2 separate regions of the Homo sapiens genome follow, and region 1 is linked to region 2. Evidence: promoter capture Hi-C in 16 types of primary human blood cells and fetal thymus (Javierre and others, 2016). All regions are on one chromosome and are shown on one strand. Each heading gives the region's core, a stretch centred on a gene start or on the middle of the fragment in contact. The rest is flanking DNA. Distances are from core to core; before and after follow the strand shown. Region 1 overlaps OTUD5 (OTU deubiquitinase 5). Region 2 holds the start of CCDC120 (coiled-coil domain containing 120).

Region 1 (2,803 bases), core at 26-2,525, 130 kb after region 2:
CTGGGGACAAGTGATCCTCCCGCCTTGGCCTCTCAAAGTGCTGGTATTGCAGGGGTGAGCCACCTGCAGCCAATTTGCTTTTTTCCCCCCTGAAATTAAAATGGTCAATGTGACAGACTGCTTCTTTTCACTTAGCAGTATGCATTAAGGTTTCTCCATGTTCTTTCATGGCTTGTTAGCTGGTTTCTTTCTTATCACTTAATGTTCCTTTTATGGAGGTACCAGTTTAATTATTCACCTATTAAAAGACATTCTTGGTTGCTTCCAGTTTTTGATGATTATGAATAAAGCTTCTGTAATGTGCATGCAGGTTTTTTTGTGGACGTAATTTTTTAGATCAGTTGTATACATACCTGGGAGCAAGATTGCTGGATTGCGTTGTAAGATTATGTTTTGATTTATGAGGAACTGAGAAACTGTCTTCCCAAGTGGCTGTATTATTTGCATGCCCACCATAATGATTTGGAAGTTCCTGTTGTCAGCATTACCAGCAATTGATACTGTCATTGTGTTGGATTTTAGCCATTCTCTTAGGTGTGTAGTGGTATCTCATTATTTTAACTTGCAGTTGCCTATTGGCAAATGCTGTTGAGCATCTTTTCATATGCTTATTTGCCATCTGTATAGCTTCTTTGGTGAATTGTGTTTGTGACTTCCTGACATACAATTCCTAAAATCCTTAGAATCTGCAAAGTGTTGCCTTTTTGTATGCTAATGAGGTGACTGATGGCTGGCAGCCTCTAGGTAGCTTCAGGATGGGGGCTGGTGACCTGAAAGACCAAGGCAGGATTAGAGGTTTGCAACTTTAAGCCCATCCCCCAGCCTTTGGGGAGGGGAGAGAGGCTGAAGATTAGGTTGATCACTAGTGTCCAATGGCATAATCAATAATGCCTGCATAATGAAGCTTCCAAAGAATCCCAAAAGGATTGGGTTCTGGGAGCTTTTGGGTAGCTGAATACATGGAAGTTTCTAGAGGGTGGCACCCCAGGGAGGGCATGGAAGCTCCACGTCCCTTCCCCCATATCTCACTCTGTGCATCTCATCTGTATCCTTTGTAATTTTCTCTATAATAAACTGGCAGACGTGTTTCCTGGGTTTTGTGAGCTGCTCTAGCAAGTTAGTTGAACCCCCAAAAAAGTATTGTGGGAATCCCAATTTATAGCTGGTCAGTCAGAAATTCTGGAGGCCCAGACTTTCGACTGGTGTTCGAAGGGGGTTGGGGGGAGTCTTGTGGGACTGAGCCCTCAACCTGTGGGATCCCAGGCTGTCTCTGGGTATTGAATTGCATTGGAGGATGGACACCAGGTGTCCGCTGCTTGCTGTGTGGGAAAACACCCTCCCCCCAGCCCGCACACTTGGTCACAGAAGTCTCCTGTGTTGATTGTTGTTGAGTGAGAGTAGAAAAAACACTTGGAGTGTGTTTAACACTGCCAGAGTGGTTAGATTTTTTGACTATTTTTTTAATTGGCTTGTTCTAACATAGTTTTACGAATTGTTTTTAACTATTCACAGTAAAAAATTACATTTTATCTGAATGCAAGGTCTGCAGGAAAAAGAAAAGAATACATTTTACATGATTACTTAGCATATATGCATTTGTGTGTGATGTGTATATGTGCATTAAAATAATGTTAACTAAAGCTTCATGAAACAACATTTGCACTTATTCCCTGGGATATATTCTGATATTTTCTATTTTTTAAAAATGCTGTTGGATCTCAGCCTGAAAAACAGTACTCTGATGTAGTGTCCTGTAACTCATAGCACCCCACACCATGTTGATACTGCCCCCTTATTCCCTCACACACCCACTACTTCCCCCAACCCCTCACATGCTTGAATACTCCCTCCACCCGGTGCACACATAGCTAATTTTTGTATGTGTCTCATCTGCTCATGTGTGTGAAAGTCCTCAACATTATGAAACAGTCATCACTGGATGGGGCTTCTTTAAATTAAGGCCCAGGGCCAGGTGCAGTGGCTCACACCTATAATCCCAGCACTTTGGGAGGCCGAGTCGGGTGGATCACCTGAGGTCAGGAGTTCAAGGCCAGCCTGGCCAACATGGTGAAACCCCATTTCTACTAAAAATACAAAAAAGTTAGCCGGGGGTGGTGGCACTCACCTGTAATCCCAGCTACTTGGGAGGCTGAGGCTGGAGAATCCCTTGAACCTGGGAGGCGGAGGTTGCAGTGAGCCGAGATTACCCCACTGCACTCCAGCCTGGGCGACAGAGCGATACTTCGTCTCAGAAAAAAAAAAAAAAATAAGTCCCAGGTTGGAAGGCACCTGACTGCTCCAGTCTCAGTGCCTCAGTTGAGGTGGTTTGGGGGTTAGAGTCAGGTCTTACAAGCATAGGAGTTTGGAATGACAGGTCCCACATCCCAAGCCTGCTTTCCCTTGGTCCCCAATCAAGAGGTAGTCTGTGGAGTGTTGCTCTTTGGGAGTACCTGCTTTCCTGTCTCCTTTTTTTTCTGGGGCCTGTGGGCCTACCTCGCTGAGCCTGTTCTGGCTCTTGGGCAGGTTCAGTGTGTTATTGCACATCCCTGTTCCTCTCCCTCCTTGCAGTTTGCAGAGCAGTCTCTGATGAAGAATGCCATAAAAACATCGGAGGAGTCATGGATTGAACAGCAGATGCTAGAAGACAAGAAACGGGCCACAGACTGGGAGGCCACAAATGAAGCCATCGAGGAGCAGGTGGCTCGGGAATCCTACCTGCAGTGGTTGCGGGATCAGGAGAAACAGGCTCGCCAGGTCCGAGGCCCCAGCCAGGTGGGTCATGGACTCTGTCACAGGCTTGGCC
Region 2 (2,758 bases), core at 20-2,519:
TTTTTAGTAGAAATTGGGTTTCACCATGTTGGCCAGGCTGGTCTCGAACTCCTGACCTCAGGTGATCCACCCGCCTCGGCCTCCCAAAGTGCTGGGATTACATGCGTGAGGCACTGCACCCAGCCAATCCTTTCTTCTCTAATTTCTCAGAGCGTCCTGGAAGTCCAGACAGGGTCCACACAGGAACCCCAACTCCTCCCTATCAGCCCGACCTCGGGGGGACATAGTTAGAGTATGAGTCATGGGGTCACTGGGCAGGCTAGACACAGTCAACGCCCCACACCCCCACACCCAGTTCCTAAGCTTCTGCCTCCGCTCACCTGCCCTCTGCATACTTGCCTTGGGGCCTGGAGCTGCCTCATCCCCGCCCAGATGGCGAGAAAGGGATCCCAGCAAACCCCTCCCCAGCACACCCCCACACCAACCCCAGGTCTCCCCCTACCAGTGACCCCATGGCCCCCATCCTGTCCCAGGGACCAGCTGCAGCGGGAGAGCAGTAGAGGGCACCCCCCACACCCAGAGGCGGGCCCGGCAGGTTTTTCAGGTCTGCCATTCTGACACCACAGCCGAGAAAGAAATTCCTGGCTGTAATAACTGTTTACAACCAAGATACCTCACCTGGGTGGCACCCCAACAGTTGGGGGGTCATTTCCACATCCTGCCACTATTAGAGCAAATACAAAATCTCAATGTCTGGGCCATTACCCTCCCCAGAGCCCCTGCTTCCTCCACTGCAGTGAACAAATCAGGCATAGGCAGGCAGGTGCCTGAGTAATGGTTTCTTAGTAGCCCAGTCTGGTCTTTCTTGGAGAGCTGGGCCCTGGGTTGGGGGAGGACAGAGGCTACTCCTGGCGGGGAGGAAAGGAAGCAGGGATAGGGTGGAGAAGGGGGGACTCATACTTCTCTTTTCCCCGATCCCTCCTCGTCCATTTCCGGCCGGGAATCGGCTTGGTGCCAGGAAAGGAAATTGGTGTTTTGGGCTTTGCCCCTGTCCTCAGGCCCTCCATTCTCACTGCCCCCCTACCCCCCCACCACCACCCTGCCCTGCATTGTTGGTGTGCCTCTCCCACAGACCTAGCTCTCTACCGAAGGGAACTTCAGTACACCCTGCCCCAGCTCCCCAATGCCCTTATCCCCCTCGCACCCTGGGCCCACTGCTCCCAGGTGCTCACCAATGCCAGAGAGTGCTGTGGGGTAGCCTCAGATACCTCAAAAATAGTTGTCTCGACCAGGCCCTGGCTCCGGCTGGTAGTGGCAGTCAGCAGCAGTGGCAGATGCCTTGGCCACCTCCCACTAGGTAATGGCCCAGCCTACCTGGCCAGGAACTGGGCCGGCCCACACCTTTTAACCCTTGCCTGTCTGCCACCAGGACTAGGGTCACCCCTGGGGGCAGTTTCAGGGCCAGGTCCACTCAGGGTGCTCAGCATGTCTAAGAAGACAGCCTGGGCCAGGCAGGGTAGCTGGTGCCTGTAATCTCAGCACTTTGGGAGGCTGAGGTGGGAGGATTGCTTGAAGCCAAGAGTTCAAGGCCAGACTGTGCAACATAATGAGACCCCCATCTCTACAAAAATTTTTTTTAAAACTGGCCAGGCATGGAGGCCTGTGCCTCCTCACCCCGTACACTTAGCAGAAAACTGGGAAGAAGGGCTGAGAGTGGTGGGAGTAGCAGCTGCCTCTCCTACTGCCCAAATTCCCAGAGGATTAGACGCTGCCCACCCAAGGGGCAACTTGGATCTGGGCCATAGAGGTGTGGGGAGCTGTAAAGTACATGGGAGGCTTCGGGTGTAAACTGAGTTTTTGTGTCTTGGCACTAAGCATCACATTCTGAGGCCCCTACCCTTTCCTCCCAGGGCAAGGCAGTGGTAGAAGGCCTTGGGGCAATTCCCACCCTCACTGGGGAATAATAGTTTCCCAAGTTGGGGACAGAGGAAGTCAACCTTTCTAAGGAGAGGTCAGGTCTCAAGATCCTTCTGTGGCTCCAGAAGAAATAATCTCAATAAATCAAGCACAACTTACACCCTACAAAACACTTATGGGTTTTGATCCCTCTTGGTTCCTACAAATGTAGCAGGATGGCACAGACCCAGCCTCCTCACAGCCATTTTATAGATGCAGAAGCTGAGGCCTGGAAAGGTGAAGAGGCCTGATTCAGATCACAGTGGCAGAAGAGCAGGTGAAATCAGAATTTCCGGGGGCTGGGTCCTGGCTGGGAGGCAGACAGAGGCTACTCCTGCAAGTGGGAAGGAGAAGTAGGGAAGGGGGCTCATGCTTCTTCACATCCATGCTGGGTCTCTCTTCTTCAGAGAGTCAGGCTTCATGCCAGAGAAGGAAATGAGAGCTTTGAGTCCTTACGACGTACTGTCCCTGCCTCCCCTCACCCCGCCCACCACCACCACCATCACCACCACCACCATCACCACTACCACCTGAGCTCTGGGCCAGTCCCGGCACACAGCACACATCCTGTGCTCCATTCAGGACCATCTGCTCTGTGACCCAGGGCCCAAGCCCTACCCAGACCCCTGCAGCAGCCCACACCATGACCTGAAGTGAGAAAAGCTGCAGATGGGCTGAGCCTAGAGAGGAGCTCACTCTGAATCAGCAATGCCCCAGACTCATACTATTAAGGCCTCCCGCCATCCCTGCCCACCTTTCTTCCTGGGTGTGAGATTTCCAGCATGGAACACAAAGGCCCCTTTCATCGCCCTCCCCACTTCACTGCCTGGGGCGGGCAGTGGTAAGGTGGGCATTGGGGAGT

Evidence for each region. Contacts are between HindIII fragments. The CHiCAGO score rates a contact against its expected background, and 5 or more counts as called.
Region 1: a fragment that was not itself captured here is called in contact with the fragment with the promoter of CCDC120 in region 2 in 1 of 17 cell types (M2 macrophages); the score reaches 5.0 in M2 macrophages.

The regions. Positions count from the first base shown.
Region 1 is chrX:48,925,816-48,928,618 of GRCh38, reverse strand. It overlaps OTUD5 (OTU deubiquitinase 5), which reads left to right. Exons shown (of 9, transcript NM_001136157.2): 6 at 2,569-2,772. Among named protein-coding and RNA genes, the nearest start is that of PIM2, 8.2 kb to the right of the region's middle. RefSeq lists an enhancer at 524-1,162. The HindIII fragment of the contact is 737 bases long and covers 907-1,643 here.
Region 2 is chrX:49,057,510-49,060,267 of GRCh38, reverse strand. CCDC120 (coiled-coil domain containing 120) reads right to left here and starts at 1,269. Exons shown (of 11, transcript NM_001163321.4): 1 at 1,173-1,269. The HindIII fragment of the contact is 2,580 bases long and covers 306-2,758 here.